Regions from separate parts of the Homo sapiens genome. Here all the other regions are linked to region 2. Evidence: promoter capture Hi-C in 16 types of primary human blood cells and fetal thymus (Javierre and others, 2016). All regions are on one chromosome and are shown on one strand. The core of a region is centred on a gene start or on the middle of the fragment in contact, and the rest is flanking DNA. Distances in the headings are between cores, read along the strand shown. Region 1 overlaps CDK6 (cyclin dependent kinase 6). Region 2 holds the start of HEPACAM2 (HEPACAM family member 2). Region 3 holds the start of LOC124901812 (a long non-coding RNA gene). Region 4 overlaps FAM133B (family with sequence similarity 133 member B). Region 5 holds the start of KRIT1 (KRIT1 ankyrin repeat containing). Region 6 overlaps CDK6 (cyclin dependent kinase 6). Region 7 overlaps LOC105375397 (a long non-coding RNA gene).

Region 1 (3,039 bases), core at 377-2,876, 590 kb after region 2:
GGGAGGCCGAGGTGGGCAGATCACCTGAGGTCAGGAGTTCGAGACCAGCCTGGCTAACATGGCAAAACCCCATCTCCACTAAAAATACAAAAATTAGTCAGCATGGTGGCGCATGCCTGTAATCCCAGCTACTTGGGAGGCTGAGGCAGGAGAATCGCTTGAACCCAGGAGGCAGAAGTTGCAGTGAGCCAAGATTGCGCCACTGCACTCCAGCCTGGGCACTCCGTCTCAGGGGAAGAAGAAAACATATTTCATAAATATTTTATCTTTTTTAACATATATTTTTACCAAAATGTAATTATTTATTCCTGTACATGCTGTTTTTTATCAAATGCTGTTTCATTTCTTATGAGTGACATAAAGCCTTTGCCGGTGATATTTTTCTCTTATAGTTATAAAATCAAAAATATGACAGAGAGTTGTACCTCTCTAGAGAATGTATAATGCAAATGGATCTTATATATAATCATATCCCCTCAGCCTTCTCATTCTTGTAAGTTCATTTGCTTCATAAATAAACTAAATAGTTTGTACTGAAACCAGAAGTTGACCTTAATATTTGTGTTGGCTGGGCACAGTGGTGCACGCCTGTAATCCCAGCACTTTGCGAGGCTAAGGCAGCAGATCGCTTGAGCTCAGGAGTTCGAAACCAGCCTGAGCAACATGGCAAAACCCTGTCTCTACAAAACAAAAAATACAAAAATTAGCCTGGTGTGGTGGCATGCCCCTGTGGTCCCAGCTACTCAGGAGGCTGAGGTGGGTGAATGATTGACCCAGAAAATGGAGGCTTCAGCAAGCTGAGATCACTTCACTGCACCCCAGCCTGGGCAACAGAATGAGATCTTGTCTCAAAAAATAATAATAATAACAAATTTAAAAATATTTCTTATAACTTTTTTTTAAATGTGCTACGGATAGATTGCATTTAAATACTTGATAAAATAGTATTGTTTAGAAATCATGATTAGCAAAACTGATTACAGCTCCTGCTCTTATCACGTCCCTGACTATGTCTAAGTTACAGAATCTTCTCAGCCATAGTCCTCACCTAAATAAGGAAACGCATTTATCCCCTTATTTGTCATTTTCCTAACTTCATCATCTATAAAGTTTTCTTAGTGATCTTTTTAAATAGCACAGCACGGTATCATGGGTAAATTAAATCTAGAGATTTGGGCCAAAGATAGGACCAAAATAACAGCATTGAATTTTCCTTGCATATTTAGTCATAATGAAACAAGGAAAAGAAACCACAGGACAGAGAAAAAGGAGAAGGAAATACAGTATTAAGCAAAAATAAATAACTTTGGAACGAGTAACAGTTCATTCTATTTGTTCTTGATTGGTAGCCTTACTTTTACTGAGCAGGTTAATTTTATTTCTCAGCAGTTTTAACTGCTTCATTCACATGGTTTATTATTTTGTGTTATTTTCTTCCATGATATGGAGTACGACAGAAGCTGTGATATCTGTTTTTTAGCAGATGAGCAGAGATTAAGTGGCCTGCCTGCACTCTGGGATTTATTTGTTAATCAGTTACAGAGCCAGCACTAAGAGCTGGATCTTCTGTCTCCTGGTCTATACTCCTTTCCATAACATGTGGTAAAGTGCTTCTCCCTTGTTCTGAAGAAATCCCTACAGGGAACCTAACACTGCCCTGATCTGGAAACAACATTGTTACCTGACAGGCCGGTTTGCCAGGGTGACCATTCTTAAGTGTTTTAGGGAGCTAGGATTAATCTTTTTTTCCCAAGAGGAAGTAGCAATAAACTGTGCACCAAAAATAACGCTTTAGCTGCTAAATTCTGCTTAGTAGGTGGTTTCCCAAAGATGATCCAATGCAATGAGTCATCCCTCTGAGCACTTACTGCACATTATTTCTTTTTACTAATCCTCGGTGCTTTTGGTTGCATGTTTTTTAACCTTTAGAGCCCTCCTGGGAGGTTCAGAGTCTTCTCACTATGAATATAAAACAGACTCTACTACATCCCCCCACATGTCCCTCTTGTCCTTTACTTCCTATACTTTTCAAATCTAAGATAATCCATCACTTAGGAGAACAGTCAGGATCATGTCCAAAGATAAAAGATCAGCAGTAAGTTTCTCCAGAGTTAGCAGCAGCTCCATCTCATTCCCAGTATAAAAATCAAAAATGTAGATGGATGTAAGTCAATGTGTAGAACCCATATCAAGAAAACTATAAAACTTGATTGAGATACATAAAAATGACTTTCCTAGATATAGAGAATATTTGATTATTAGAAAGATATTAAATATTCCATTTTCCTGAACAGGAAGATTGAATAGTTGTAAGGATATAAAAGGTTTCCAAATTAATTCATAGGTTTATGCAACTCCAGTCAGAATTCCAGTGGGATTTCCTGAAATGCATTTGGAAGAGTTAAACTGGTGAAAATAGCCAAGAATTTTTTGTTACCAAAAAAAAAAAGTTATGAAGAGAAACTCCTGCTACCAAGCACTAAAATACATTATGCAACTACAGTAATAAAAATAATGTGGTACCAGCAGAAGTGACAGACATTAATGGAACAGAATAGAGAATGAGACTTGAAACCCTAATTTAGGAAGTGATGCAATTTATCATAAATCACAAATCTGGGAGGACAGAACGGCATATGCAACAAATGAGAATAGGGTAATTGGTCAATTTCATGGGGGAAAAATGGTAACCTGATTAGATTCTCACTATTCCTCACCACAGAGCAAATGACAGATGGCTTAAAGAGTTACATATTAAAAGTGAAGCCATAAAAGAATAAAGAAACTATAGGAAGTATCTGTGACCCTAGAATGGAGATATATTTTCAAAGCATTAAGAAGTCACAAACAAAAATACTAATATATTTGATTATATAAAAATTGAAAACTTTTGTTCATCAGAAAATAAAAACACTGCCAAGTTAAAAAGCATGTGATAATCTTGGAGAAAATGAATGAATATGACAAAGGTGTAATATCCTTAATGAATAAAAGAGCTCTTAAAATTAATTGGAAAGCCACTAGCACACCCCACTGTAG
Region 2 (2,956 bases), core at 17-2,516:
GCAGAGAAAGTTGTGGCATTGTTATTATTTTGCAGGGAGGTGGGGGAAGCATGAGGAGCTCTTGCCATTTTTCTGAAGCATGGAGGGATCTGAAAGTGACTGATCTCTGAAGAGGACTTCGTTTTCCCAATAGTCACTTACTTTCTTTGCTTATAGAAGTCCTTCTAGAAGAGTTCAGAGCCCTAATGCAAAGAGTGTTTCCAAACTTGGATTCCAAAGTTACTATCATTCCTTTTTTACTTTAATTATGCTTGAGGTATAGTCTTCCTTCCCCTCTTATCATTGAACTTCTTCAGTGGGCCTTTACTGTTAAAACTGATGCATGCAAGGAATTTTCCTTGATTTGATGATTTGATGCAGATTTGGATATATCCTTAACATTTTATATAACAAGGCTAGAACCAGAGCCTTCTTGCAAATAGGGGTTAACTAATAACTTAGTAAATTAAGCGGACATGCTTAGACTATCTGCTGCCATGACAATGGAGAGACCAGGTTGAAAACCTGTAACCTGGACACTGCAGTAGAGGTAAGATCTTTTCTAGATCATTGGTTCACTTCCTCTATGCATCAGCTGTGAAAATGTGGCCTCAGATACTATCTCCTGGCATGCACTTTTCATTATAATTATGCATGGTCCATGCCTCAGTCCCAGTTGGAAACACACCTGTGATTTGCTTTTAAAAATAAGATGAATTCAAAGATTAAATGAAATCAGTCATTGTAATAGGAAACACTGCATAGAAAAAATACGTTTTAAATATATTCTGGATCTCTCTTTTGATTCATTGGTAGAATTTTTACATGTTAGTGACTTCATGAAGATTTATAACTGTTTAGCAGATACATGAGCTACTTCAATTTTCATATAATTTTTTTTAATTTTAAAATAATAATGGCATAGTTCTGCATGATAGAAAACCAGCTTTTGTTTTTAAGGAAATCTCACAATATTCTTTCATTATGAAAACATGCCATTTTTCAGTAAAGTCACGCAAAAGGATGTTTTCCTTCATGTGATTTTTTAATAACTAAGTATAATTTATGAAATATATAGACAATTACTGGTAGTTGCTAAGAAACTCTTCTGAAAGCCATAAGCCTGTATTCTTGCTAAGCACATAACAGGTGTTCCCACTCCCTGTGTCCTTTGTATACACATTCATTCTGTATTCAAATCACAGAAGCAAGAGGCAAGATAGGGTCTGTTACCTCACTGCTAATTTCCCTAGCAAATAAACCAGCAGCTGCTGGTCCAAGTTACCACTGAGAACAGGGCACTGCATGCATGGGACAGGATGCTTTCATGGAGCCCTTCGGTGACACACTTGGGGTCTTTCAGTGCAAAATATACCTCCTTCTCTTCGGTAAGGCCCTGTGTGAATTGTGTTTTAGCTGTTTGTTAGGTTTTTTTTTTTTAATTGTGGACATAAGGTAAATATTTGCTTTAGGCTGTAGATGCATTCAGATAATTGAAGAGCAGGTCAGAACCTTTTAACAATAACACACTGTTACAGCAAAGAAGCAGGAACATTTAAGAGAAATGAGTTTCAATAAATAGATTGTTATTGTTTTCTTGGAACAACAATTATTGTCATAGCACTCATTAAGATAATTCAGATATTTTTAAAAGATAATGAATTTCTTCTTTTAGAGTTTACATATAGGTTCAATAGTCTTTAATGCATTTATTTCAGCAAATATTCTAATAGGCCATGAAATTGTGACCACTTAGAGTGAAACTACAAATAATTTACGAAAATTGTTTTCTTTTTAATTAAAGATATTGTTGCAAACTGTTTACTGCTTCGTTTTAAGTTATCTGTCTCATCTTATGAAATATGGAAGAAAGGTAAGATTCCAAACTAACAAAAAAATTTCCTACACAAAAGGGAGAACGTATTTGAAAAGATTGTTACTCCAAAATGCCTTTAGCTTTTCTCTTTGCCCAATGGCTAGTCCTATTAAGAATTTTTTTCTACCTTAATATTTTCCCTCATTCTCCTCTTTATCTTTTGAGTTTAAAGGAGTCTCTTTCCAGCATTCCAACTGCTGTCTGTCAACATTATTTTCACCAGATGTTCTCATTTCCATTCTTCCTATTTATCAGTTTTAAAAGTCAAATCAATTTCTTGTTTTGTTTATATTCAACAGATAGGAGTTCAATTAAGGCTACATTTTTTAAAAATTAAGAACAGCTTAGCAAAATAAGCAATTTAACTTTTAGGCTTCTTCAGCTATTTAGAGCTTTACTTTCACTCCTATATTTTGTTAAAGTTTGCATTGTAAATGTTATTATTCAAATTCATACCTACTGTTGTACCTATCTCACACATTTGAAATGTACAGTTTGTAAATTTTTTTAAGTCTTTGAGTTTCCCAGAGTTGTGATTGTTCCAGTTATCACAGTATTTATGTTATCAAATTTAAGCCTATAATAGATTTTTGTTTTCTAAAATTTTTTGAAAAAGTAAATAATTATTATAACTGTCACTACCTTTGTGCATTTGTCTTCCTTTTGAAAGTATCCTGGGTCATCATCCCACTTATTTTTATATTTAAAACAGTAGGACTACTATCATTTTATAAGTGTTGTTTTTGAAACTGGCGTTAAGAAGAACTTAGAGACAATTTAGTTAAGGAATTCAACTAAAATAAAACAAATGTACATTAGGAAAATAGCATGTTCATAAATAGCTAAAGCAGTTTTTATACCTTAAGACCTTCTCTCTTCTGCAAATTTGCTTTTCTCCATAGGCAGTGTGTTGTAAAGACCACAGATGACTTGGCAATCTTTGCTTTTAGGAATATTGAAGTTTTGTTTGCTTCTTCTTTTTAAAAAATTTTTAAAAATTTGAAGCCTAAAATGTACAGTTTGTACAGTTTATTCAAAACACATCATAATTTCTATTTTCTCTAAAGATGCAAGATTTTATTTTCAGTCAACAATACTTGT
Region 3 (2,720 bases), core at 209-2,708, 860 kb before region 2:
GATAGATAACTTGGTTGTTTTGTTATAAGGAGCTTTATTTCCTCAGGATGAATTATGAAGATTTTTCTTTTTGTTGTTTCAAAATAGGGCTGTCTTATCTGAGAATGTGTTAATTAAAGTTATCATGTATTACCTTGTTTCTAGTCCTACACATTTGATATGAACAAATTACTGTTTACAAGACAGCTTCCTGTACTTAGAATAGCAGCTGTTGTTACTCCACCAAGAAGAGCTGCCCAGAGGGGCTAGGGCATGAGGAATAGGTTTGGAGACAGGAAGAATAAAGGAATGTTCAGATCTAGCTCGAGGGCAGGCGGGACACTTGTGGTGGGATGGTTGGGTCCACTTCGCTTTCTGTTTTGCCTCCTAACCAATCTGATGTTATCTACTCACGGACCTCCATTTTCCTGGTGCACTCTTTTGGCTGGCCCTCCTGCTAAATCTCTTTGCTGGCTGAACCTTAGCCTTCCCTAGCCACAAGCCAATGAGAAAATCACTACCTCTATCTCACTAGGTTGGAGCGTAGCACTTTGGGAATGGAAGCAACAAGTCCTAACCTCACAGTCAGTCAGGCATTCAACTCAAATACATGATCATTTATTCAGGAGGCATCTGCTGTGTGCAATGGCTTTGGGACAGCACAGAGAGAGATGCAAAGATGGAAACACTGTCTCTACCCCAGTGTAGTTTAGGACCTGTCTTGGGAAGAAAGCAATTGTTTCCAATAACAGTAGTAAGAACAGCAAGAGAGATGCAGTGATGTAGAATGGGAAGGAGATTCAGAGCATTCTTGAGTGAGCTGCTAATTGGAGGGCTGAGGGGATTGTGACTTCATCCTTTGCATCCAGGTGCTGCTGGCGTGTCTGGTGCACAGTGGGTGCTCTGCAGTGTTTGCCAAGCCATTATTGAGAAGGGGTATCCAATGGTGTGCATACCCCTTCGAAAGGGCTTACTAGTCATGTGAGGTGCTACTAGAGAGACAAGTTAAGGTTTTGAATGAGAGATGAGAGTTGGAAGAATATTCTAGTGGAAAAAAAGAATATGAGAAACAGTTCAGAAACATGGAATCCCTGCTCAACTTCCTCTGCTCACTGCCCCCGGCCACTTCATCCAGGGATGTTGAGGACAGATTTCTCTACAGGTAATTGGAAGCAAGACTTACTTGGAGAAAATAGTTTCATTGGTCTCTTGTCTCTGACAGTACTCACAAAGCCTCCTTGCTTGTTTGCTTCCTTCCCTTAATCCCATTCTTTCATTCCGAACCTTTCTACGTCTCCCTTAAGTCCTATTTTCTTTTTCCCTTGTTCTGAGCTCCCATCACCATCTTTATCCCCTGTCAACCAAGGAGACAGGGCACAGGTGCAGTTACCAGGTCACCAAGCTAAACAAAGGGCTTTAGAGTTGGTCTTTTTTGTGACTGTCCTGCCTCCCTCTAGGTATTTATCTCTTTTCTGTGGGTAGCATAACAGAAGCTCAGAGAGTTGATGTGCCTGCAGCATGACATAAGTGGAAGTCACAAACATTCATTTTCCACTTCTTTATTTTGCCTTCTGAGTCATGGTGCCTCTGCATAATTTAAACCTTTTCTCTCCCCACTGCCTTAACCCCTGAAAATCTGCAACAAGTTCACATGCATCCTTAATTCTCCACTCTAGAATTTCAAATGGAAGTTTTAAACAATGTTTTGGCTTCTTGTGAAATCTGAGAATCCAGTGTATGTCCTTGGTCTTACAATAAAAGGCTGGTAAAAGTCCTTTTTTTTTTTTTAACTTCCTCTTTCTCTACTCTATTGTCCAGTTTTGGCTTTCCTATTTTCCCTCATCTTTGTAAAATTGCCTTCCAGATGTCTCTTCAAATGACTTGACAGCAGCCCTGTTATCTTCTAAGAGCCTAAAAGCACTTTGGCTGCTTTAGAAAAATGTGTTTGTTTTTTCTTCTTATTAGGCAGCATCTGAAGTCTCTCTGAAAACACAAGAAAAGAATATACAGAGAACCTCCCAGAAACTGCAAGTCCCATGGAAATTAAGGCCATTAGTGTTTTGTATAATAAACAGTCACCTTTGCATTTAAAATGGACTATTTTGTTTTGGATATAGGTGGAGTAGGATATAAATGTATACTTCCTTGCTTCTTAGTTTATCATAGGAATCTAAGAAAAGAACTAAGGATAAGAGAAAAGGAGGAAAAAAAGACAGCTCTGCTGCTTTTATCTCAGGTTATTTCAGAAAAAACAAAATGATAACCCTGCAAAATTCTCAGCACTCTTCACTTTGGTTCCACCGCTTTCAGTGGGTGACTTGTCTGGAAAGGAATCTCTTTTAGCCTTCCTGGCTAATGAGCCATGGCAGATAATGCCACAAGGTGTCACTATTGCTAAAATCGCTCTCCACCTACAGGATCGATTGCGGTTATGGTTATGTGAATGTGAATTAGATTTCACTTTTGTTTCTAAATAGGCTCCCTGGGAGAGGTACTTTTTGACTGGCAGTGTTCGCTGCCTCCTTCACTCCAAACAAACAAACTATGGCTTTGGCTAAATTATCTAGTGAAGCTCAGATTTCTAATATAGAATTGAGTAGGAGATAATTTCTGTCTTTCCGGGTAGAAAACCTTGGTATAGCTGAGTTTCAGATGCAGCACTTAGTAGGTACGCAACAAAAGTTAGCTCCCCTAACTTAAAAGCGAGGAATGGAGTTGGAAAGTGTGCATGGGGAAGAGGG
Region 4 (2,930 bases), core at 409-2,908, 650 kb after region 2:
TCCAGGGCTGGGCATGGTTGCTCATGCCTACAGTTTCAGCACTTCAGGAGGCCGAGGCAGGAGGATTGCTTGAGGCCAGGAGTTTGAGATCAGCCTGGGCAACGTAGCAAGATGCTGTCTCTACAAAAAATATTTATGTGTTTTTTTTTTTTTTTTTAATTAGCTGGATGTGGTAGTACATGCCTGTAGTCTTAGCTACTTGGGATACTGAGGCAGGAGGATTGCTTGAGGCCAGGAGTTGAAGATTACAGTGAACTATGATCATGCCACTACATTCTAGCTTGGGTGACAGAGCAAGGCCTTGTCTCTTTTTAAAAAAAATTCCAGCTTCCCAGAAGGAAAACAGGTATTTAGCTTGAACTACATTGTTTGTACAAACAGTTTTAGGAACAATGATCTGCTCTTATCAGAGAATAGTAAGAATCCTCCGAATTCAAGTTCCCAGATGCCCACCTAGGGCCAGTCTTTTAAGTATGTCTTTCCAAGATTAAGCAGTCAGGCGAGCTGTATTAACTCTTCTCTGCACAGCATGTTAGGTACCTTATTAAATGGGTCATATATGGAATGTAGTAGTTCAGTCAGATAGATTTCAGGGCATCCTAACACTGAAAACTACCAGGTTTATGACCTTAGGTGGATTTCTTACCTTCTCCAAGCTTCAGTTTCTTTATCTATAAAATGGGGATCCATACCTTTTCTCAGAGGGTCGTTGTGAGGATTAAATGAAAATGTATTTTAAATAGTGCCTGTTGTAAGTGCTTAGATGTTTGGTGTATTAGCTCTTATAATCCATATTTAGAAAAGGAGTGATTAGTGTTATTTATTTAGCTTTATTATGGTAATTTATTTTTATAAACGTGAACAAAGAAATTGAAATGTTACCAACATTGAATAGAAGTCTATTAGAATATTTAGAAGAGTTTATGAAATTTTGTTGTCTTATTTGTAAGCATTTATCTAATTTGAATTGCTTGAAATTTTGTTTGTACATTCTATTTTTTAAGGGAAGAAGTAAAAGAGCAACTAGAAAAGAAAAAGAAAGGCTCCAAGGCTTTGGCTGAATTTGAAGAAAAAATGAATGAGGTTTGTAAAAAGTACCTGTTAAAAAAATAGACTAATTTGGCCAGTTATGGTGGCTCATACCTATAATTCCAGCACTTTGGGAGGCCGAAACGGGAGGCCAGGAGTTCATGACCAGCCTGGGCAACAAAGTAAGGCCCCCCCCCGCCGCCCTTGTCTCCATTAAAAAAAAGAAAATACCTTAAGTATTTGGGCATAGCTCTCTCAGTTAAAGAGGTTCTGTATTTTAGAAGTGTTATTGTTATGGTGAATACAAGTTTGTATTTACGTGCATGCTTTAAAAAATGAAGAAGAATCATCTTGTAATGTAAGTCATCTAAGACTTAGATAACTTGGATTCCAAGTTAGGGTTGAGCAGTCCTCCTACTTCAGCCTCCTGAGCAGCTGGGACCACAGTTGCAGGCCACTATGCCCAGCTAATTTTTTTTTTATCTTTAGTAGAGACAGGTTCTCACTATGTTGCCCAGGCTGGTCTCCAACTTCTGAGCTCAAGCGATCTTCCCACCTTAGCCTCCCAAAGTACTGTGATTACAGGTGTGAGCCATTATACCCAGCCTGTTTGCTTGTTTTGATTACAAACATGTATATAACATATCAATCACAGTAATGATTAATTCAACTTTTACAGCCTAGACGGAGAATCTAGCCATCTTTGTTGAAAAGAGACCTCAGCTTCAGTAATAATGCCTGCTGCTCAATAATACAGAACCCCTATCCCTTAATATGCTCTTTGAAAAGAGCTAGTAGAGGGTCCTTTGGTGATAGGGTCAAGGATTGGCACCTGTGTTTCTTTTGACTGTAATTAGAAGCTGAAATGGGTGAGAGGTATTAAGAGGATGGAGGGAAGGAAGCAGTGGCTGTCTCTGTATATTAGGTGTATTGGAAAGGTTAGATAGTCTCTGATGGTGTTCATAACCTTTTTGCAGAACTGGAAGAAAGAACTGGAAAAACACAGGGAGAAATTGTTAAGTGGAAGTGAGAGCTCATCCAAAAAAAGACAGGTAATACCACTTTTAGTTTATTGCTATTCTTAATCTCATAGTTGGATTTTCATAATAATGCTGTATACTACTGTTAATAGATGCATTTGCAAACTCACATCAGCTTATTTAGACTTGTACTTTTGTTTCCATTTAGAGAAAGAAAAAAGAAAAGAAGAAATCTGGTAGGGTGAGCAAAAATTTTCCATTTTTCTAAACGTTACAATTAAGAGCCAACAAAAAAAGTAAGAATAATTTGTTTAACCTGTATGCTAAAGGTAGCTTAAACTCCAGATGAGTCAAGGAACTTAGAGGTTCTTTGATTGTGAAGAGTGATTTTGTTCTATCACTGACATAAAAAACGGTGCCAACCACCTTATAACGTAGTACATTTTCTGTTGCTATTTAAAGAGAAAGATTGGTGACCATGGCCACATATGTTAACTTGTTGAGCTTTTGTACAGGGAACAAGTGTGACATTTTATATTTTCATATTTATGACTTATGAATATGGCATCTGTTTCTCAGACACTAGATTGATTTCACTAAGTATTTGAGAGACTTTGTAAAAGAAAAACATTCTCGCATCTCACAAGCTTTAATTGTTTTGTGCTTGGTCAAGTATTCATCTTCTTCTTCATCAAGCTCTGATTCTTCCAGCAGTTCTTCTGATTCTGAAGATGAGGTAAGGTTTGCTTATAATGGTTCATGAAATAATATCTCTTAATTTCTTTAATGTCAAGTGGAAACCCATTGTGAAATATCTGTTAGAAATGTTGACTTCCAGGTTTTGATTAATTATCCATAACTTAGAGGACTAACATGAGTGAGTGGTAACTAGGAACTTAAATATTGGTATATAATATATTT
Region 5 (2,700 bases), core at 193-2,692, 980 kb after region 2:
ACAGATTTTTACACCTTACACATACCCACATACTTCACAAATTAAGAACTAGATGAAAATTAGAACACTAAAATTTAAAGGTATCTAAAATACACTATTTGAAACAGCAGACTCTTATCTTTACATTTATCTGTCAGATCTACCAGTAAAGCTCTTCTGAAATGGTCATTCCAATACAAGATTGTTCGATATGCCATTCCGTGTGAATAGAGCTTGGGAGACTAATTCTCAAAATCTCCTCAGGAGATGCTTTATTACAGCTCTAGTTTCAATTTCCTGCGACTCAAACAGCTACGTACAGAAAAACAGCTCATACATACGGAGAAGAATAAGAATACAGGGGAGCGCTCCATTCTTTTGTTTTGGTGGCAGAAGCTGCAAAAATAAAGGTTCACTGGAGCCATCTGCACCTATCCCCACCCATCACAGCCCTGCAGAGCACTTTTACCCATCCGCTTCTCAAGACTCTCTCTAGCCCCCGAGGTCGGCAGAACCCGTGGCTTTCCACGTCTCAAAGGATGGGGGTGGGGGGGAGGCTGCGAGGAAGGACACAGATCCTTTGAGGACAGAGGGACAAGGAGATGCATCCAGATGGGGAGGATGGGACGCGTCACGGAGACCCGGAGGCTTGCAAATTCGCTGGGAGAAAAGCCCTGTAGGGCAGAGAATGCTGCCTGTTCAGGGATGGGGACAGACAGAACAACAATGCTCCAAAACAGGCGACAGACACACTCCTAGTAGATCCGGGAGGGTGTGAAGTAGGTAGCTCTGAACTCGGAGCCACAAATGGGTAGAGGCAGCCTCAAACACATCTGTACCGCGAAGCTGAGACTTACGGTTACTTCTCTCGCTGAGGGTAAGGGTCGGTGGACCCAGCAACTCCGCAGTTCCGCCTCCGCCGCCCCTGCCTCTACAGCCGAGCTGGTGACCTCAGGTACCCAGCCCGCCCCACCCACCCGGACGGTTGCCCCTTCCTCGCCGGCCCGGGTGCACCCGCCAGGCGGAGGCTGATGTGGCCGAGGGTGCGCACTGGCGGCCCGCGGGAAGCGCTGCGTGAGCCGAAGGCGCCCGCGGCGAGGCTCAGACTGGGTGGGCGCCCCCCATCCCTCTCCGGCCGCTGCGCCGCCTCACTCGGGGGAGGGGAAGAGGGGGCGGTGGCTCTTGCCTCCGCCTCGCGGTCAAGCCCGGCTCATGTTCCAGCCTTGCGCGCTCGCAGCCCCGGCCGCCCTCTTCCCCTCCCCCGCCTCCGGCTCCGGCTCCGGCTCAGCCGCTGGCACCCCCACCGCCACCACCCTAGTCTCCTAGTCGCCTGCCACCAGCCCCTGAGAGACTGCAGGTCCAGTGAAAAGGAGCAGGAACGGCAGCAGCCCGGCCGCCGACCCGGAAGCTCTTTCACCGCCAACCGCGAGGCTGCAAAGGGTGTGAACCCGGAAGCGATTTCATAGCCACGGTAACGGCGGGGTGGAAAGCTAAGGCCTTTGAAGACCTGGGACCCCGTAGTTTCGGGAGAGGGTGAGGGGTGAATGGTGCTGAGGTGCGAGGAGAGGGAAGGACAGTAAAGAGCAGGTGGGCAGGAGGGTCTCCGACTCCAGAGACCTGAGCTTTTGGGGCGCGGGTGGGAGCGCGGGGGAACCCTCAAGACGGCTTTCTTTTGGCGACTGAGGGTTTTTCTGCCACAGGAAGCTGGGCCGGGCTGCTGTGCCTGGGAGGAGGGAAGGAGGAATGAGAAAGCGGTGACGGTCCCTGCCCCCCCTCGCCAGGTGACTGTCCCACCCATTTAGTTGAATGTAGCGGCCAGAGAGGCACTCGCGGCAGCCCGTACGGGTGGGACCTCTCGGTGTCCTTCGGGAAACAGGAGGAGCAAGTTCGACTCCAGCGAGGGAAAACGGAGGTGGGAGACTGAACCATCTCCACATCTAGTTGCCCCAGGCAAGGAGTTTATTTTTCACATGTAGTTACAGAGAAACCATAGCCACTTTTTGGGTGGAAACTCTTTGAGCAAAGAGGCTTACGTTTTTCCCCAGTAGTGGACGTTGACGGGTGGTGGCGCAGGAAAAAACCTCCCAGGCAGAGTGATTACGTATTTTTGTCATTGCAGGGAAAGGGATTCACAGCTTGTCATTCTAACTCACTTCTCCCCCTGTAACTCACTTCTCGCCTCTACACTTTTCTCCACCTTTTAAGGTTTTTGGCTTTCATCGCTTTTTCTACATGTTTTTAGCCTCACCAGAAGTCTTTCATCTCGGTGGTCCAACTCAGGATCTCAGCCTCATTATTTTCTTACCCTTCTGGAGTGCATATGTGCCTTTACAGTTTCTGTTTGCAAACGCTGTCTAGCATACTAAGAGGATGTTAGCAAACCTGTTCCATGGACACTAAATGGCAGTTGTACATCTCCCCTCATCAGTCATAGTGACAACCAGAAATGCCCTCCATATTTTCCAGTGATCCCAGGTAGGTGCCACCCCCCTAATTAAGGACCACTTCCACTGCTTTATTTATAAGATCTTATTACTTAGGGAGCATATTATCATTTGTGCCTAACATTTTCCAGAATGGAGTGAGCCATATAACAAAATGCCACGTTTCCTGTACTTATTCACTTGAACCCTCATCTCAGACTCAGTCTAAACATATTGCAAACTCTAGTTATACCTTTCTTGTATTTTAGTTCAAGCTACTCATTTTCTATCAGTTTGT
Region 6 (3,012 bases), core at 3-2,502, 610 kb after region 2:
TTCCTATGTCCTGGAGATTAAATGCCACTACCTAATTTTCTCCTTCTTGGGCTCTGGGAAAAGAGAACTCAGGCTCAGGAATTTTGCCCCTGCTTTCCGGTCCTTTGGGAATTCAGCCCTTGCAAAGCTTTTCTAGAGATGTTTCTTGCTGTTAGAGACAGTTGGAACCTTTCTACAGACAAGCTCTTTCTTCCACTTGCCCTTTAGCTCTTGATGTTCAGAAGATCCTATAGGGAGGCTAGCAACCATGGACTGATGGGGATCTCAGGATAAATCAGATTTCAGAGGACCCAAGAATTTGCCTGAAATTACACATAGAACTTTCTGTTTGTATTTGTTTTTCTAGGTCAGTAGCCTTCGATAGAATATTAGAGAGGTCCCTAATCCAGTTGGAACCTGACTAGGACTGTGAGCAGGAGTCCTATTAATATCATGGTTATGCAGACCTCTTAAGTGGAAGAGGTCTTCCATTAACCATGATAATGTGAAGTCTGTAAATTACATAGAAGACTGGAATGCATAGACATTTCATATACCCAGTTCACTTTAGGATGGAGAAGCCAGTGTGGCTTCCCTGCTACTTGTGAGCTCCTGTGGCAATGAGGAGGTCTTACTCATCACTAATTAGTGCTTGCCACCTGCTAGGCACCCAGCAGGAGGCGTTGATGGAAGGAGAGGAGGAGGATTTGAGTAACAAGATTACCTGAGGTAGGGGTGGAAATGAGACTGAAATTAGGGACACATTCTAACTAATTTAGGTATGGACAGTTTGGGAATAGAGATTGCTGCTACTGCAAAGGTTTCCCTTTCCCTCCTTTCACCTTCTACCTCAGTAGCTCAGCCAAACTGCCCAAACCACTTGACTAGGACCAGGAGCTTCTTAAGCGCAGGCACCAGCTCATTCACCTTGGTAGCCCTACACTTGAGCTGTCAGCCTGGAATAGAGTTTAGTGACTCGAACTGAATCTAATGGTCCCCTGAGAGAGCTACTGCTAGCCATGTGGCACCTTGGTATTAATTAAAAGGAAGATAGCCCTGCCTCTGAGTGGTGTAGCCTTGAGGCAGGATAATAAGTTACGGTGAAGTCTCCGACTGTAGCACTAAGTTTGCTAGCACTGGAAGAATTACTAAATAAAGTTATATGCATACTTTAATGGCTTAGTGAGAAATCCTGGGCAGGAAACAGTCCATAGGCACCCAAAAGGGTCTTCTCCTGAGGGACATTTTATACATTAGGGATATATATGAGTACTGTCTCCATATTATTTAGTGTCCCTTTAAATAAATACTCATTCCCACTGTAGATGCGCTTAACATATGACAGTGAATAAAGGGATAACTCTGTAAGTACATTATTTACATTGATGTATTGTATATCAACCAATTATTTTTTTCTTTATTACAGAAGTGTTTGACATTTAACCCAGCCAAAAGAATATCTGCCTACAGTGCCCTGTCTCACCCATACTTCCAGGACCTGGAAAGGTGCAAAGAAAACCTGGATTCCCACCTGCCGCCCAGCCAGAACACCTCGGAGCTGAATACAGCCTGAGGCCTCAGCAGCCGCCTTAAGCTGATCCTGCGGAGAACACCCTTGGTGGCTTATGGGTCCCCCTCAGCAAGCCCTACAGAGCTGTGGAGGATTGCTATCTGGAGGCCTTCCAGCTGCTGTCTTCTGGACAGGCTCTGCTTCTCCAAGGAAACCGCCTAGTTTACTGTTTTGAAATCAATGCAAGAGTGATTGCAGCTTTATGTTCATTTGTTTGTTTGTTTGTCTGTTTGTTTCAAGAACCTGGAAAAATTCCAGAAGAAGAGAAGCTGCTGACCAATTGTGCTGCCATTTGATTTTTCTAACCTTGAATGCTGCCAGTGTGGAGTGGGTAATCCAGGCACAGCTGAGTTATGATGTAATCTCTCTGCAGCTGCCGGGCCTGATTTGGTACTTTTGAGTGTGTGTGTGCATGTGTGTGTGTGTGTGTGTGTGTGTGTGTGTGTATGTGAGAGATTCTGTGATCTTTTAAAGTGTTACTTTTTGTAAACGACAAGAATAATTCAATTTTAAAGACTCAAGGTGGTCAGTAAATAACAGGCATTTGTTCACTGAAGGTGATTCACCAAAATAGTCTTCTCAAATTAGAAAGTTAACCCCATGTCCTCAGCATTTCTTTTCTGGCCAAAAGCAGTAAATTTGCTAGCAGTAAAAGATGAAGTTTTATACACACAGCAAAAAGGAGAAAAAATTCTAGTATATTTTAAGAGATGTGCATGCATTCTATTTAGTCTTCAGAATGCTGAATTTACTTGTTGTAAGTCTATTTTAACCTTCTGTATGACATCATGCTTTATCATTTCTTTTGGAAAATAGCCTGTAAGCTTTTTATTACTTGCTATAGGTTTAGGGAGTGTACCTCAGATAGATTTTAAAAAAAAGAATAGAAAGCCTTTATTTCCTGGTTTGAAATTCCTTTCTTCCCTTTTTTTGTTGTTGTTATTGTTGTTTGTTGTTGTTATTTTGTTTTTGTTTTTAGGAATTTGTCAGAAACTCTTTCCTGTTTTGGTTTGGAGAGTAGTTCTCTCTAACTAGAGACAGGAGTGGCCTTGAAATTTTCCTCATCTATTACACTGTACTTTCTGCCACACACTGCCTTGTTGGCAAAGTATCCATCTTGTCTATCTCCCGGCACTTCTGAAATATATTGCTACCATTGTATAACTAATAACAGATTGCTTAAGCTGTTCCCATGCACCACCTGTTTGCTTGCTTTCAATGAACCTTTCATAAATTCGCAGTCTCAGCTTATGGTTTATGGCCTCGATTCTGCAAACCTAACAGGGTCACATATGTTCTCTAATGCAGTCCTTCTACCTGGTGTTTACTTTTGTTACCTAAATAATGAGTAGGATCTTGTTTTGTTTTATCACCAGCACACAGATTGCTATAAACTGTTACTTTGTGAATTACATTTTTATAGAAGATATTTTCAGTGTCTTTACCTGAGGGTATGTCTTTAG
Region 7 (2,955 bases), core at 145-2,644, 630 kb after region 2:
CATGGACCCTGAGACTGAGGTGGGAGGATGGCTTGAGCCAGGAAGGTCCAAGTAGTAAGTCATGATTGTGCCACTGCACTCCAGCCTAGTTGACAGAGTGAGACCCAGTCTCAAAAAAAAAAAAAAAAAAAAAAAAGAAGAAGAAGAAAGAAACAGTGCTTCTAAGGGCAGTACTGCGCATGCATTTATATTTATTTGCATATGTCAGCAGCTAGCTTTAAGTCATCTCATCACTGGAAACTCATACATTCATTCATTCAACACTTAATGAACTTCTGTTCCAGGCACCAGCAAACCCTAGAAATACAGTAGTGAACAAAACAAGGTGCTTGCTCTCATGGAGCTAACATAAATATTTGCATAGGATAATTACATTATGATAAGTGCTAAAATTGCTATAAGGTAGAAAGTACTTGCATTGGCCAATGCAAAGACTTTGGTATTTACTCTGAATAAGATGGGAAACTGCTGGAAGATGGGAAACTGGTGTCAGAAAAGGCCCTGTCAAAAGAGTTGAGGCATGAAGAATGAGACTAAGGCAGCTAGGTGGGGTGCTCAGGGGAAAGCAGCTGAAAGCTTCAAGGTAGGAAGGCTTGGTATGTAGAAAAGACATCAGTGAGCCTAGAGCATAGTCAGTCGGGGGAGGAGTGGTCAGAGATGAGGTTAGAGAGGTAGAGAATGTAGACAGCCTGTTTGAGAAGCTGAATCATAAAGCAGAACAGAGAAATGGAGGTAGAGCTCAGGGAGGATGTGGTATCAAAGGAGAATTCTTGTTTTCTGAGATGGAAGACAGTCCATTGTGGAAACAGAGAGATTGAGGGTGAAAAAGAAGCAATAACAGCAGAAGCAAAGGTAATGAGAAGAGGGAGAGGAAGGGCCCAGGAGAACAAGAGGAAGAGCTGGATTTGAGAGAGAAAAGGATTAATGGGAGGGCAGGCAAAGACAGTGGGTACAGGTACAAACAGACCAGTCAATATGGCAGTGAAACTAGTCATTGATTCATTTAGTAAATATTTATTGAGCACAGTGATGTGCCAGGCACTGTCCTTAGGCACTGGGGATGTGGCAGTAAACAAAATACACAAAATGTCTTGTTTTTATGGAGCTTGTTTTCTAGTGAGGGGCAACAAATAAATAATTATAGTAAACTAGGATGTTAGATACATGTGTGGGAAGAAATGAGGAAAGGAATATAAAGTGTCATGGGGGTGCAATTTTAAACGAGGAGATCAGTGAAGGCCTCATAGAGAAGGTGACACTAGATCAAAGGACTTACAGAGAAGAGGAATCTAGGTGTATTAGTGATGAAGAAAACAACAGGTGCTAATGCCTTAAGGCAGGAGCATGCCTGCCATGTCCAAAGAACAGCAAGGGGGCCAGTGTAGCAGCAATTAACTGCAAGAGAAAGAAAGGAGATATTCCAGGGAAGTTAGTGGCAGGAGAAGCATATCTTGGAGGGGCTTCTTGGCCAATGCAAAGACTTTGGTATTTACTCTGAATAAGATGGGAAACTGCCGGAAGGCAAGAAGCACAGTCGTGACATATGATCTGTTTGTAAAGCCACTGTGACTGCTCTATTGAGAAAATACTTTAGGGTGGCAAAGATGTAAGCGGGGAGCCTGGGTTAGGAGGCTGTTGTAATAATCCAGATGAGAGATAATGGTAGCTTTGATCAAAGTGAAAACAATGGAGACAACAAGATGTAAGATGTTTTGAAGGTAAAGGTTATAGTAGGTGCTTATAAATTAGACATGGCATTGAAAGAGAAGAAGCGTGGATGGGCTGGGCGTGGTGGCTCACGCCTGTAATCCCAGCACTTTGGGAGGCCGAGGTAGGTGGATCACCTGAGGTCAGGAGTTTGAAATCAGCCTGGTCAACATGTGAAAGCCCATCTACTAATAAGAAAAAATACAAAAATTAGCCAGATGTGGTGGCGGGCGCCTGTAATTCTAGCTACTTGGGAGGCTGAGGCACAAGAATCACTTGAACCCTGGAGGCGGAGGTTGCAGTGAGCTGAGATCACAGCATTGCACTCCAGCCTGGATGACAGAGTGAGACTTTGTCTAAAAAAAAAAAAGTGAGGATGTCTCTGAAGTTTTTGGCTTAAGCAGGTGGAAAGATCAAGTTGCCATTTACTGAGATGGGAAGAATGTAGGAGGACCTGGTTTTAGGGAGAATATTGGGAGTTGGACACTGGACATGTTAAGCTTGAGCTCATATGAGACACTGAAGTGAGGATGTTGACTAGGCAGTTAGAGGCATGAGTCTAGATTCCAAGGAAGTGGTCTAGATTGGAAATAAAAGTTTTGAAGTTGTCAGTGTATGGATGGCATATAAAGCTAGAGATTGGATGAGATCAACAAGAAAGAAAGTGTCTATAAAAAGAAGAGATCCCGGCTGGGTGCGTTGGCTCATGCCTGAAATCCCAGCATTTTGGGAGGCCGAGGCAGGCGGATCACCTAAGGTCAGGAGTTCAAGACCAGCCTGACCAACATGGAGAAATCCCATCTCTACTAAAAATACAAAATTAGCCAAGCGTGGTGGCGCCTGCCTATAATCCCAACTACTAGGGAGGCTGAGGCAGGAGAATTGCTTGAACTCGGGAGGCGGAGGTTGTAGTGAGCCAAGATCATGACATTGCACTCCAGCCTGGGCAACAAGAGTGAAACTCCGTCTCAAAAAAAAAAAAAAAAAAAAAAAAAGGAAAGATCCCAGAACCAAGCTCTACAGTGCCCCAGTGTTTATATGCCAAGCTCTACAGTGCCCCAGTGTTTATATCCCAGGAGACGAAGGAAAATATGCAACAGAGACTAAGTGGACTTTACGAGAAGCAGAAGGTGAGCATAGTGTCTGGAAATCCAAGTGAAAAAAAATCTTTTGAGGAGGAGAGAGTCATTGTTGTGACAAATGCTGCTGATAGGTCAAGGAAAATAAGGGGCAACTGATTAAGCAACA

Evidence for each region. Contacts are between HindIII fragments. The CHiCAGO score rates a contact against its expected background, and 5 or more counts as called.
Region 1: a fragment that was not itself captured here is called in contact with the fragment with the promoter of HEPACAM2 in region 2 in 1 of 17 cell types (monocytes); the score reaches 7.4 in monocytes.
Region 3: a contact is called between a fragment that was not itself captured here and the fragment with the promoter of HEPACAM2 in region 2, in 1 of 17 cell types (total CD8 T cells). The highest score is 5.5, in total CD8 T cells.
Region 4: a contact is called between a fragment that was not itself captured here and the fragment with the promoter of HEPACAM2 in region 2, in 2 of 17 cell types (non-activated CD4 T cells and total CD4 T cells). The highest score is 5.3, in non-activated CD4 T cells.
Region 5: a contact is called between the fragment with the promoter of KRIT1 here and the fragment with the promoter of HEPACAM2 in region 2, in 5 of 17 cell types (fetal thymus, naive CD4 T cells, activated CD4 T cells and 2 more). The highest score is 8.5, in fetal thymus.
Region 6: a contact is called between a fragment that was not itself captured here and the fragment with the promoter of HEPACAM2 in region 2, in 6 of 17 cell types (fetal thymus, naive CD8 T cells, monocytes and 3 more). The highest score is 8.6, in fetal thymus.
Region 7: a contact is called between a fragment that was not itself captured here and the fragment with the promoter of HEPACAM2 in region 2, in 2 of 17 cell types (neutrophils and non-activated CD4 T cells). The highest score is 7.0, in neutrophils.

What each region holds. Positions count from the first base shown.
Region 1 is chr7:92,633,886-92,636,924 of GRCh38, reverse strand. All of the region lies in intron 5 of CDK6 (cyclin dependent kinase 6), which reads left to right. Among named protein-coding and RNA genes, the nearest start is that of FAM133B, 45 kb to the right of the region's middle. The HindIII fragment of the contact is 5,319 bases long and covers 1-3,039 here.
Region 2 is chr7:93,224,779-93,227,734 of GRCh38, reverse strand. It overlaps HEPACAM2 (HEPACAM family member 2), which reads left to right and starts at 1,266. Exons shown (of 10, transcript NM_001039372.4): 1 at 1,266-1,367. The coding sequence starts at 1,289. The HindIII fragment of the contact is 7,149 bases long and covers 1-2,956 here.
Region 3 is chr7:94,087,590-94,090,309 of GRCh38, reverse strand. LOC124901812 (a long non-coding RNA gene) reads left to right here and starts at 509. Exons shown (of 2, transcript XR_007060642.1): 1 at 509-1,141; 2 at 1,945-2,072. The HindIII fragment of the contact is 6,381 bases long and covers 1-2,720 here.
Region 4 is chr7:92,577,470-92,580,399 of GRCh38, reverse strand. FAM133B (family with sequence similarity 133 member B) reads left to right here. Exons shown (of 11, transcript NM_152789.4): 3 at 1,005-1,083; 4 at 2,007-2,081; 5 at 2,218-2,250; 6 at 2,683-2,745. Among named protein-coding and RNA genes, the nearest start is that of FAM133B, 11 kb to the left of the region's middle. The HindIII fragment of the contact is 2,000 bases long and covers 659-2,658 here.
Region 5 is chr7:92,244,656-92,247,355 of GRCh38, reverse strand. It overlaps KRIT1 (KRIT1 ankyrin repeat containing), which reads left to right and starts at 1,442. Exons shown (of 19, transcript NM_194454.3): 1 at 1,442-1,566; 2 at 2,185-2,454. It overlaps ANKIB1 (ankyrin repeat and IBR domain containing 1), which reads right to left and starts at 1,382. Exons shown (of 20, transcript NM_019004.2): 1 at 837-1,382. RefSeq lists a silencer at 947-1,336 and an enhancer at 1,267-1,561. The HindIII fragment of the contact is 4,029 bases long and covers 1-2,700 here.
Region 6 is chr7:92,613,680-92,616,691 of GRCh38, reverse strand. It overlaps CDK6 (cyclin dependent kinase 6), which reads left to right. Exons shown (of 8, transcript NM_001145306.2): 8 at 1,406-3,012. The coding sequence ends at 1,552. Among named protein-coding and RNA genes, the nearest start is that of FAM133B, 25 kb to the right of the region's middle. The HindIII fragment of the contact is 2,246 bases long and covers 130-2,375 here.
Region 7 is chr7:92,596,543-92,599,497 of GRCh38, reverse strand. The region is part of intron 1 of LOC105375397 (a long non-coding RNA gene); the gene reads left to right. Among named protein-coding and RNA genes, the nearest start is that of FAM133B, 7.6 kb to the right of the region's middle. RefSeq lists a silencer at 605-654. The HindIII fragment of the contact is 1,631 bases long and covers 579-2,209 here.